3 separate regions of the Homo sapiens genome follow, and regions 2 and 3 are each linked to region 1. Evidence: promoter capture Hi-C in human tissues and cell types (Jung and others, 2019). All regions are on one chromosome and are shown on one strand. The core of a region is centred on a gene start or on the middle of the fragment in contact, and the rest is flanking DNA. Distances in the headings are between cores, read along the strand shown.

Evidence for each region. Contacts are between HindIII fragments. The study calls those that stand out against the background at their distance.
Region 2: a contact is called between a fragment that was not itself captured here and the fragment with the promoter of FANK1 in region 1, in 1 of the 25 tissues and cell types used here (aorta).
Region 3: a contact is called between a fragment that was not itself captured here and the fragment with the promoter of FANK1 in region 1, in 1 of the 25 tissues and cell types used here (heart right atrium).

Annotation. Positions count from the first base shown.
Region 1 is chr10:125,894,784-125,898,922 of GRCh38, reverse strand. It overlaps FANK1 (fibronectin type III and ankyrin repeat domains 1), which reads right to left and starts at 2,359. Exons shown (of 11, transcript NM_145235.5): 1 at 2,268-2,359. The coding sequence starts at 2,280. It also overlaps a transcript of DHX32 not described here. RefSeq lists silencers at 1,789-2,083, 2,175-2,314, 2,475-2,554, 2,775-2,854. The HindIII fragment of the contact is 9,835 bases long and covers 1-4,139 here.
Region 2 is chr10:125,861,053-125,865,133 of GRCh38, reverse strand. The region is part of intron 2 of DHX32 (DEAH-box helicase 32 (putative)); the gene reads left to right. Among named protein-coding and RNA genes, the nearest start is that of DHX32, 18 kb to the left of the region's middle. The HindIII fragment of the contact is 5,901 bases long and covers 1-4,081 here.
Region 3 is chr10:125,940,744-125,944,740 of GRCh38, reverse strand. The region is part of intron 1 of FANK1 (fibronectin type III and ankyrin repeat domains 1); the gene reads right to left. Among named protein-coding and RNA genes, the nearest start is that of FANK1-AS1, 31 kb to the left of the region's middle. The HindIII fragment of the contact is 3,831 bases long and covers 1-3,696 here.

The DNA of each region.
Region 1 (4,139 bases), core at 1,110-3,609:
ACCCTGTCTCAAAAAAAAAAAAAAACAACAAAACTTGAGCTAAATGGTGATTGAATTATTTAAAATTAAATTGATGAAATAATTTAAGAATATGTGGAAAGAAAGAAATTTACAGTCATTCCTCAGGTATAAATTAAATATTTTCCACCTCAAAATCCAATGACATGAGATATAAATGTATAGTTCACATAAGTAATACATTTCTCACATGGTTACAGAACCTTTCTGATCAGGCTCCGGTTGAATTTTCCAGCCTTATCTCATTTCTCCTCCCTCCTTCCAACCCTGTTTTTTCCTCCTCCTCTCCTTAGCTACAGCTTTACTAATCTTCCTACCGTGAGCCTCAAACCCACGCTGCTCTCAGGTCTCAGGGCCTATGTACAAGTAATTCCCACTGCCTGGAATCCCTTGCCCTCATTCTTTGCTGGGTCATTCTGCAGACCCAGTACTACTTCCTCTTGGGAGCCTTTGTCCATCTCCTCTTCCCCCAATCTCCGAACCCCACCAAGACCTCAGGAGTTCTTGAGCAAGCCTCTGCTTAGTTTTCCTGGGATGACCAAAACTAACACTGTCCGATCCGTTGTTCAATCCTCAATCCCTAGAACAGAGCTGCAACATAACAGGCACTATAAATGAATGAATGGATAAAGACAGCACTGAAGAACTTGAAATTATAGTTTACACATGAAAACAGTAACATAAATCTGAAGAAATAAAGTTCTTTTTTTTGTTTTTTCGAGATGGAGTCTCGCTCTGTCACCAGGCTGGAGTGCAGCGGTGCAATCTGGCCTCACTGCAACCTCCGCCTCCCGGGTTCAAGCGATTCCCCTGCCTCGGCCTCAGCGTCCCAAATAGCTAGGACTCCAGGCACGCGCCACCACACCTGGCTTTTTTTTTTTTTTTTTTTTTTTTTTTTTTTTTTTTGTATTTTAGTAGAGATGGGTTTCACTATGCTGGCCAAGATGGTCTCAATCTCCTGACCTCGTGATCCGCCTGCCTCAGCCTCCCAAAGTGCTGGGATTACAGGCGTGAGCCACCGGGCCAGGCCAAGTTGCTGTTTTTAAAAGGTATATTTCAACTCACTTCTCTAAGGCGGGAATATACACAGCCTGCCATCAGTTTGACATAAAACAAAAATTTTAGCGTTCTTGTATGCTAAATTTCTTTTACTAGGTTAAAAAAATGTAGAATCCAAAGAGCTGTAAATGCAAATGACAAATACTGTACAAAATCTATCAAGCAACTATAAGTCACAACTTGCAAGCTTTCTCCTCAGCAAATGAGTTAAAAGGAAAAGTATTTGAAACTTTCTTGGTGGAAAACGAATGACCTTTAAAAATGCCAACATTTTCCCCAGAGAATAGATTTGGTCTGAGTTCTTCATTTCTGAAATTGTACAAGATAAGACGACTTGGTTTGAGAGTCAAACTGCATCCTTCTATAAAGGTTTTAGATAAATTTTAAGTCTCCATACAAAACACTCCCCTTATTTTGAGAACAAAAGGAACAATAAGACAGCTTAGGCGGGGCAGAGAAAGAAAGGCCTTGAAACAAAGTCCCTGGAAAGGTAAAAACAACAACAAAAATAGTAAGTTAGAGCTCGTGTTTAGATCTGATAACTCAAAACTGCACAACTTTTGCCATACATCGAAAGCAACATGGGAAAACAGAAAAAGAGATTACAAACATTTTTTGAGTGTCCTAACTTGTAGAACCCCTAAGAATGAATCAAATACACTTGGACAAAGCTCTTCTTTTCTCTCTCTCTCCTTCAAGTCGCAGACTAGGGGTGTGGGGCGGGGGGCGGGGAGTAAGACGGGGTCTCTAATAAATACAAGACCCAGCCTCGGACGTGTTTAATTGCTGACATTTTAGAAGAAAAATGGGCTACTTACAATTAATGAACCAAACTACCAAACTAAAATCATGAGTAGGAGGAGGAGTAAATGGAACCGTCCGGGCGAAGTTTCAGGAAGACGCACGCTGGGGTCGCTGCGCCCTTCCCCACCCATACCTCGGGGCTCTCCAGTCGCTCCCAGCCCCCAGCGCGGACTCTAGGGCGCCGGCGGCCCAACCATACAGACTTGGCAGGATGTAGCCCCCTTCTCCCCTCTCCAGGAGAGAAAAGCGCGAGGAGACGCAAACCGTATTTCCGTGTCCGAGCGTTGAAACCTGCGGAGTCGCGCGCGGGGCGCCCACACTCGTTCCCGGGGAGCCCCAGCCCGGTCGCCCGCCCCGGTCCCAGCTCCAGCCCGGGCCTCCCTTACTCTGGGGCTCCATGGTCGGCTGCTCCCCGGCCTCCGCGGGCGAACCCCCGGACTCCTAACGCCTCTCAGCCAGGGCCGGCGTCGCTACGGTTGCCCTGACAACCCGGAGGCGAAGTGGGCAGAACTAAAGGGACGGCGAGCGGGAGGGACCAAAAGCCGCAGGAAGTGAGGGAGCGCGTGAGGACCCGCGCGTCGCCGGGGACACTGAGCGAGGGTAGCGGCCAGGTCACCGGCTGAGGACACTGCTCCTGAAGCCCGGTCAGGCGGTCGCGCCCTCCCTGGCGGCCCCCGCGGCCCCGCAGGACCTGTGCCCCGACGTCGCCGACCCGCGGTCCCCGCTGTCGCCGACCCGCGGCGTCCGTCGGGCGAGTGGGCCTGCCCGCGGGTAAGGCGCCGGCCCTGGGCCGCCCTCCCGGGAATCGGGAGCCGCCGCTGCAGGTAACAGCGGGGCCCCGGCGGCGGAAGGGGTCGGGGGTCGGCGCAGGGGCGGGCGCGCCCCGAGCCGGGTGGGCGGCCCCGGCGCACCTGTTGTAGCCGCCTGGGGGTCCCCTGCCCGCAGTTGGCCGTGGACGTTCCCCGCCCCGACTCCGAAACGCCGAGGGCGGCCTCCGCGCCTCCTGCTCCGGGAGCCGCGCCTCAGCGGGAGGACGGAGCCCTGCGGGCAGCCCTCGCACCAGGGGCTCCCTCCGAGCCCGGGCATGGGCCGGGCCTGGGGCGGTCCCTCGAGCCCCCCTGACGGGAAGCGTGGAGCAATGCGAGCCGCCGCCGTCGTCGCTGTCGTCCCCAGTGAGCCTGGCGCGTCTCCTGAATCGCGAGAGCCAGGAGCACGGTTTTGCCCGGCTTTGCCCCGTCATCCCCGTGTCCCATTTCAGGCAGGGGGCCCGGGTTGGATCTTTCTCGCTGGCTTCGTTTTTTGTGTGTTGATTTGTTTCAGTCCTTCGCGTTTCCGGTTGAGTTACGGAATCTGCCCACACGTTTTGTGGCCAAACTTTGTAGGGCTGTGAAACAATGTAACATTATCCCACACAATAGTCTTTCATACTGGTTTTAAAACACAGTGATTCAGGGTTTGCTTTAAGGAAGCTTTGAGGATCACAAGAGATTATTATCTGGTAGGTTGTAAAAATTCAAACAACCAGGAGAGTATCATAGGTTCCGGAACACCAGAAGGAGGAAAGAAAAATGGAGACGAGAGAAAAAGGATAAGCAAGAAAGTGCAGGGGCATTAAGGGTGTGGGGGGCTGCAGGATTGATTTGGTATTCAGGTCTGGAGATTATGGCCCCTCTATTAATTCCAACCGCTGCTCCAGACAGTACTTGAGGGAAATGGAAGGAAGAGCCGTTTTGGGGGTCATGGAAGTGATTACTAATCTTGCCAGTAGAAAGATTTCCACTCCATGGATGACAAGGACACTAAGGAGAATTACTTTCCTCTTAGGGAATCATTGAGAGGTTAATTGAACTTGAGAAGCATATATTCTGTGATGGAAACTGACATTTATTATATTCTTCCAAATTAGGTTTTCCCCCTCTCAGACTATATGGGGACTTTTTCAGATTAATTGTCAAAACAAGAAGGTTTATGTGTGGATATTGACAAGCAGCGTGATATATACAGAACACATAATTCTTAAGCTGAAGTATTAAGGTAATAAATTAAGGGTGGAAAGTAAACACTTCATGGAACCTTAACTCCCTGTTCCTGAAATTTAGAGACAGGGGCTTCATTTTTAGACAGAAAGTATAAAGATCAGCAGTACTCCTGTATCCAGTGGTTCTCAAGTTCTAGTTTACATATCATTAGCAAAATCACAAAGCGGTCTTTTCATTCAAGATACAAATAGAGTGATCAGTATATCATAATCAAAAGTG
Region 2 (4,081 bases), core at 818-3,317, 33 kb after region 1:
TTTAATTAAATGATGGCTCTGACTAGGTTCTGAAGTTAATATTATATCTTTAATACCATCTAGACTTTGAAAACCCTTTAAAAGGATTCTTTAATGTAGTCATTTTTAAAATGAGATATTATAAGAGCTTTGTCATGATATGGAATCAGATATTTCTTTTTCTTTCTTTTTTTTTTTTTTTTTTTTTTTTTTTTTTTTTTTTTTGAGACAGAGTCCCACTCTGTCTCCCAGGCTGGAGTGAAGTGGCACGATCTCAGCTCACTTCAACCTCCATCTTCCGGGTTCAAGCGATTATCGTGCCTCAGCCTCCTAAGTAGCTGGGACTACAGGCATGCACCATCACACTTGGCTAACTTTTTGTATTTTTAGTAGAGACGGGGTTTCGCCATGTTGCCTGGGCTGGTCTCAAACTCCTTAGCTGAGGCAGTTTGCTGGCCTCGGCCTTTGAAAGTGCTGGTATTACAGGCGTGAGCTACCGCACCCAGCCTAAGATACTTCTTAATATGGAAAGCCACAAAGACAAATAATGGTGGGGAAATCTAATAATACTGTTAGACACGCCTCACCTTTTAAACATCTATCACATGTTAGGCTTAGGATTGTTTTATGGTAAAAACCCAAGCATTCAATTCTGACACCCAAAGGAAATACTATATATTAAAGTATGTATTAGTTTCAATCTGTGTATGGCATTCCTTTCTTAACAGGGACAGTTGCTTCAGGTGTGGTGGGCTGAGGTACAAAGGCACCCATGGAGACAGGTGGAGAGTAGCTTCCTGCTTTGACAGGTTTTGCAGGTTGTTTCTTTCTGCCCTTGCTGGGCTGCCTTATTCTTCATTGCTTTCATATCTTCACTTCACAGTTACTCTTGCTTCTGAACATTGTACTTTCTTTTCCACTGTGACATGCCCCCAGAACCAGCGCAGAGTCAGAAGATACTCTGATGCATTGTGGTAAACAGTGTTTGAGTCACAGGAAAGAGGCCAGAGCTATTGAAAAGACCCCTATGATAAAATAAAGCAACACCTGTTTTCTTCCTGGTATTCCATGCTCTGGAGAGGAGGCAACATGGCTGTCAAAGGGTGTCTCCACCACTTACTCACTTGTAACCTTATAGAAGTCACCTAACCTCTTTGACCTTTAAGTTGCCTCATCTGAAAAATGTGGACGATTAATATACTTGCTCTGAGGGTTGTTGTGAGGACTATTAAATTTATGTAACTGATGCATGGTGTATGTATGTGGTAGCTATGTTTATAATTATATTTTTATAATTATGATTAGAACAAGATTGATTTTCCTGAAGAGGTATGCTAGCCATAATTTTGAATAAGCTCAGATTGAATAGCTATTTAAATCAGAGGATTTAACATTGATCATTGATTGGCCGGGCACGGTGGCTCACGCCTGTAATCCCAGCACTTTGGGAAGCCAAGGCGGGCAGATCCCAAGGTCAGGAGATCGGGACCATCCTGGCTAACATGGTGAAACCCCGTCTCTACTAAAAATACAAAAAAAATTAGCTGGGAGTGGTGGCAGGTGCCTATAGTCCCAGCTGCTCAGGAGGCTGAGGCAGGAGAATGGCGTGAACCCAGGAGGCAGAGCTTGCAGTGAGCCGAGATCATGCCACTGCACTCCAGACTGGGCAACAGAGTGAGACTCCATCTCAAAAAAAAAAAAAAATTGATCATTGATTATAGAAGGCAGTAGTCTATATTTGATACTGTCTTTTTCATTTTTTTGGTAGCCCCTTAGTATCTATCAAACACATCATAGGCAATTAGTAAACTGTCTTTAAGCCTACTACTATTTTTTGGATGCTATATGTAACAACTTTGTTCTTCTTTAAGCTTTTCTCTGGCCTTTTTTGAAACAGTGAATACCTGAATATTATATACCTAAAATAGTCTTTAGGAACTACATATCAAGATATCTCATAGAAGTGACTCATAGTGTCAAATGGTGGTCTTTTCTGTTTTTAGAACTGGAAAATTCTCAAATTTTCATTAAGGTTAAACTCAATTATATAATTTTATAAAATATAAATATTAATAAAACTTTATTTTATTATAGTCTTAGCTTTTAGAAATTTAGCCTTAATTTAAAGATATAAACTGCATTTCCTGAAACCTTGGTAGTGTATCTATTTTTTTTACGTACTTATTAGTTAACAGCACTTTTTAAAGTATCATACACACAATATCTCATTACCATAAAGTTCAGAAACATATCTTTGTGTTATATAGAAAAAAAGTAGTTTTTTTTTTTGCTTTGTTTTGAGTTGGAGCCTTGCTCACATTGCACAGACTGGGATGCAGTTGTGGGATCATAGCTCACTGTAATGTGGGACTCCTCCTGGGCTGGAGTGATCTCCCACCTCAGCCTCCCAAGTAGGTGGGACTGCAGAAAAATGTGGGTTTGTATAGTAAGTTTTAGGATTGAGCCTTCACAATTCCCTTATATAATCATCTGTAAGGCTAGGCCTTGCTGGATGAGTCTGCTGGAGTTTTTAATAAGTTAGCATCTTCTCTTTTTTTTAATTAAGCCTAGATGTATTTACATAACACATAAACCTCCTCAATCTTATGGGGCAGCATTACTTCCTATAAGATCAGTGCTTAGGTGAGTTTTGCTGAAAAGGAAACAGAGATAACATTAGAAATTAAATCTCTAATTAGCCTCAGCAAAAAAAAAAAAATTGAAAACTAGATTTCAATGCATCTGTTGGCATCTTGCACAAAGTATAATACTATAGTATTCAAGATGCTTTATTTTCTAAGTTTGAGGAAAGGAATCATCAATTTATCACTGCTCATTTGAAAGACACAGGATGAGAACCTGTATGAAAAGAAAGGCAGAGGGCATACACTTTGATCTCATAAAGATCCAGAGAGGAAGAACATGGACTTTTATCACCAAAACTACAAGGCCAAGGAAGCAATCGTTATAATTTGACAGTGACAACAGATAGAACAACTATCTGGGTTTAAATCTTGACTCTCTACCTGGCTTTGTGACCTTGGGCAGGGTACTGAATTTTTCTGACCTTCAGTTTTCTCATTTATAAATGAGTCATAGTAATGGGATAGCAATATCTACTTTGAAGATTTATTCTGAAGATTAAATGAGAAACATATACACCAGCTTAGTGACTGGCTCACACTAGGTGCTTAATAGATGTTTGTTTACTTCCTTTTTTTTTTTTTCCTTGAAAGAGGTTAATTGAGGACTGTGTCAAGATCCCCAAGACTACCCCCGGGTTCAGTGATTTGCTAGAAAGGTTCATGGGATTCAGCATATTATTTACATATAACTAAGGTTTATTGCATTGAAAAGATACAAAGCAACATCAGCAAAGGGAAATAGTGGATGGGACGAAGTTTACAGGAACCCAGGCGCAAGCTCACGAGCTCTCGCCCAGTGAAGTCACAAACCGTGCACTTCATTCACAGCTCGTGAAATGGTGCCCTACCAGGGAAACTCAGGCTCAGTGCCCAGGGTTTTTATTGAGGGCTGGCCGTAGAGGCACCCTCTGCCTAGTATGTTTCAAAATTCCAGACTCCCAGAAGGAAAGCACATGTGCAGCGTAAAACATATTGCCTGTACAAATGGTTCAGGCACAGCAAACTACTCTTTTCTGGGGGAGTCTCGCTCTGTCGCCCAGGCTGGAGTGCCCTGGCGCAATCTCGGCTCACTGCAAGCTCCGCCTCTCCAGTTCACGCCATTCTCCTGCCTCAGCCTCCCGGGTAGCTGGTACTACAGGCGCCCGCCACTACTCCCGGCTAATTTTTTGTATTTTTAGTAGAGACGGGGTTTCACCGCGTTAGCCAGGATGGTCTCGATATCCTGACCTTGTGATCCGCCTGCCTCGGCCTCCCAAAGTGCTGGGATTACAGGCGGGGCAAACTACTCTTTATCAGTTCTGGGAATGGTGAGGACCCTCCCCAAATCTAAGTTCCCAAATGCTAGCCAAGGGCTAACCTTGCAGGCAGGCCTGTCGAAGGATAGCAATCTCAGAATTGCCATGTACAAGAATAAATAAAAGTAAATACCTTAAATGGGTAAAAAACATATGGGATTG
Region 3 (3,997 bases), core at 532-3,031, 46 kb before region 1:
AGTTAACTGCAGCAGGAGCATGTCCTTAAGGCACAGATCGCTCATGCTATTGTTTGTAGCTTAAGAATGCCTTTAAGCGGTTTTCCACCCTGGGCAGGCCAGGTGTTCCTTGCCCTCATTCCTGTAAACCCACAACCTTCCAGCTTGGGCGTTAGGGCCATTATGAACATGTTACAGTGCTGCAGAGATTGTTTATGGCCAGTTTTGGGGCTGGTTTATCGCCAGATTTTGGGGGGCCTGCTCCCAACAGGAAGGTATTGAATTGTTAAGTGAAAAAGGTTTATTCATCAGAGATCACAATGAAAAAGTTGTGTTCTTCAAGTAACAGAAATTTCTAGGAATCACCCAATTGATTTCTAGATTTGATCAATTTTTACATGAGTGCCTGGAAAACTATAAAGGTAGAAGGACAAATATGACTTTTATTTATCCAAAATAGCTCATGGAGAATTAATCAAAATAAGGGAAAATATGTACAAAATAAAGTGGGAACTCAAATAAGTAAATAAACCAAACATCAAATATTGCTACAAATTCTCCAGTAGCAAATTGCTTTATGTATGCCATTATCGTGTGCTACTCTAAAACAGAAAAATCATGTTCTACAGCAAACCAACTTTTAACTGTCAAAATTCATCTGAAATTAAAGTATACACAAGAATAATTCAAACGCAGTTTTGTCTTTTCAACAGAATGAAATAAGTTCTGAGCAACTTTAACCTTATGTTGCATTTGCAATCAGTCACGTAAAAACGTGACTTTTAGAAGACGTGAAGATTCCACAATGCTTTCACATTAGTAAGTACTTAAAATATATTCTGGACGCAGTTCGCTTTATCACTTAGTTATCCCTGGGAAAGCTGCCTTCCCAGTCCCTAAAGTTGCTGACTACTTCAGATTTTCCAAGTTACACGTTCTTCTTGAATTTATCTTTTACATTACATGTAGTATTTTAATCACCCATGCCAACTTAGTATTCAAGGGTCTAAGGATAGTGAGGTGGTTTGCCCATTATAAAGCATTGAGATCTTGTAGCACAAAGTACACAACATCTTAAAGACTCTAAAATATATTTTCTGACTCAGAAGGAACACCTGAGCATGAATAGAGAGTTCATTCAAAATTTAATAAACATTGCACAAACGGTCACATATTGTATAATTCTATGTATACAAAATGTCCAGAATAGGCAAATCAGACAAAGTAGATTAGTGGTTGCAAAGGGCTGGAAGAAGAGGAAAAGGGAGAATGGTTTCTAATGGTTATGAGATTTCTCCTGGGGGTGATGAAAATGTTGAAGATAGATAATGGTGATTATTGTACAACTTTGTGAATATAATAAAAAGCCACCGAATCATGCATATTTTTAAAGGGTGAGTTTTGTGGTATATTAATTATATGTCAATATTTTAAAAGTTACCAAAGGTCAAATATGCCATTTTAACTGCAATTTAGAAAAACAATTTTAGGCTAGTTTAGAAAAAAAAATGAAAAATGTCTGATTCCTGATTTAGACATATGAAGAGTTTAACAGAAAATACAGAAAATTACTGGACTATGAAACAATGGTGATTAAAGATGAACAATGAAATTAATAGAAATTATTCTGACATCAAGCAGCAAATTATAGTCTGGGCACAGTGGCTCACGCCTGTAATCCTAGCACTTTGGGAAGCCGCAGTGGGCAGATCACGAGGTCAGAAGTTCGAGACCAGCCTGGCCAATATGGTGAAACCCCATCTCTATTAAAAATACAAAAATTAGCCCGGTGTGGTGGCACACGCTTGTAATCCCAGCTACTCAGGAGGCTGAGGCAGGAGAATTGCTGGAACCCGGGAGGCAGATGTTGCAGTGAGCTGAGATCATGCCATTGCACTCTAGCCTGGGTGACAGAACAAGACTCCATTTCAAAAAAAAAAAAAAAAAAGCAAATTATAAAAAAATTTCAGATCTAATGAAAAGCAGTAATTAAAGACACAAACTTCAAATAGAAGTAGCAAATAAGCTTGTAGATTTGATAATTCAGTTAGTAAAATGAAAAATATAACAGGTGTATCAAGCAGTCGATTAATAAAAATATTTTTCTGAATTTAAGTTGGTAATGTTTTATATTTGTCAGCTTTTAAATATTTGTAATTTATTTTCTTGTTTTTAGTTAATGTTAGCTTTTCTACCTAATTTCGTTTTCTTAATTTTGTATTCTTTTCGTTAAAAAATGTCCTCCTCCTCAAATCGTTTAAGATTTGCTGAGAGTTCTCAGCTTGTCCAGATTGGGGAAAAAACTCTAAAATTGTTATAAAATGTTAAGCCTATGAAGTCAGGGAGAATTGACATCTTTATAAGAATAAATTGTTCTTTTAAATTCTGGAATATACGTGCAGGACGTGCAGGTTTGTTACGTAGGTAAACATGTCCCATGTGGTTTGCTGCACCTATCAATCCATCGAGAATAAATTTTTCTAAGAACAAATTGTGACTTTTTGTTCAAGTTTCCTTTGTGGCTCTCGGCAGACTCTCAATGTCTTCACAATGCTCTTGCACACTGCCCATGAAATTTACTCCTAGCATTTTATCTAGGAAGTTCCCTTCCTATATTAACTCTGATTACTCTTTATATACAGAGGCTATTTCTTATTTAGTTTTCCTTCATCATTATCATGACATTTCACATCAGAAGGGTGTGTGGACCCCATCCCTAATAAAATGTAAAAGGCACATGCTGGGAACCAGCCCCCATCTGAAGGCCAGAACATTACTAATACCAGTGGCCCCACTTGTGTGCTGGCCCCATCCTATTGCCCTGAATAACCCCCAAAGACACCACCACCAGTTTTGCATACATTATCCCTATGATTTATAAAAGTGAAATAACATTGTAATATGAATTCTTCCGTATTGTTTGGCTTTGCTGCTACAATGCTAATGCCACTATAACAATGGTATCAAATGGTATGATTTTGAGACTTGTTTTATTAAATGTCATGTTACTGGGATATATCAAGTTGTGAGTAGCCGTGGTTCACACTTTTCCATTGCTGTGTTATATTTCATCATGTGAATATACCATAATGTACTCAGGCTCCTCACAATGGGCATGTGGTCATTTCTAGGTTTTTGCTACTGCAGACCATACAGCTATGAACATTCTTGGTTTCTTGGTATCCACATGAAGGTTTCTTTGTGGCCTAGACATAGCAGTGAAATCTATTAGTCAATAGCTACACAAATATTCAAACTTATGTGATAATGTCAAATTGTTTCTCGAAGTGATTATACTAATTTCCACTTTCCCCAGAAGTATGAGTTTCCACTGACCCATAATCCATTATCAGACTTAATTATTGCCAGTCCTGTAGATGCAAAATCGTATCTTACGATGGTCTTATTTCCCTGTTTTCCAAACAGCTTTAATGCCTTCCCGTGATTTTATTTGCCAAATTGCTTCTTCTGCAAAATGTCTATTGTCCATATGTTGCTTGTTTTTTCACTGGATGTATTTTAATTGACTTGTAGAAATTCTTTATGTAGTCTGAAATCTAATCCTGTTAGATATGTTGCAAATATAGAACTTCTGCAGGATTGTGTCTTATTATTTCACTTTCTTTACAGTTTACCTTTGTGAAAATGTTATTTCCTATCCCAAGTTTAGAAATGTATTTTCTGACTCTAGGGAAAAGAGAGATCAGACTGTTACCATGTCTATGTAGAAAAGGAACACATAAGAAACTGCATTTTGATCTGTACCCTGAACAATTGTTTTGCCTTGAGATGCTATTAATCTGTAACTTTAGCCCCAACCTTGTGCTCACAGAAACATGTGTTGTGTGGAATCAAGGTTTAAGGGATCTAGGGCTGTGCAGGATGTGCCTTGTTAACAATATGTTTACAGGCAGTATGCTTGGTAAAAGTCATCGCCATTCTCCGTTCTTGATTAAGCAGGGGGCACAACGCACTGCGGAAAGCCGCAGGTACCTCTGCCCAAGAAAGCCTGGGTACT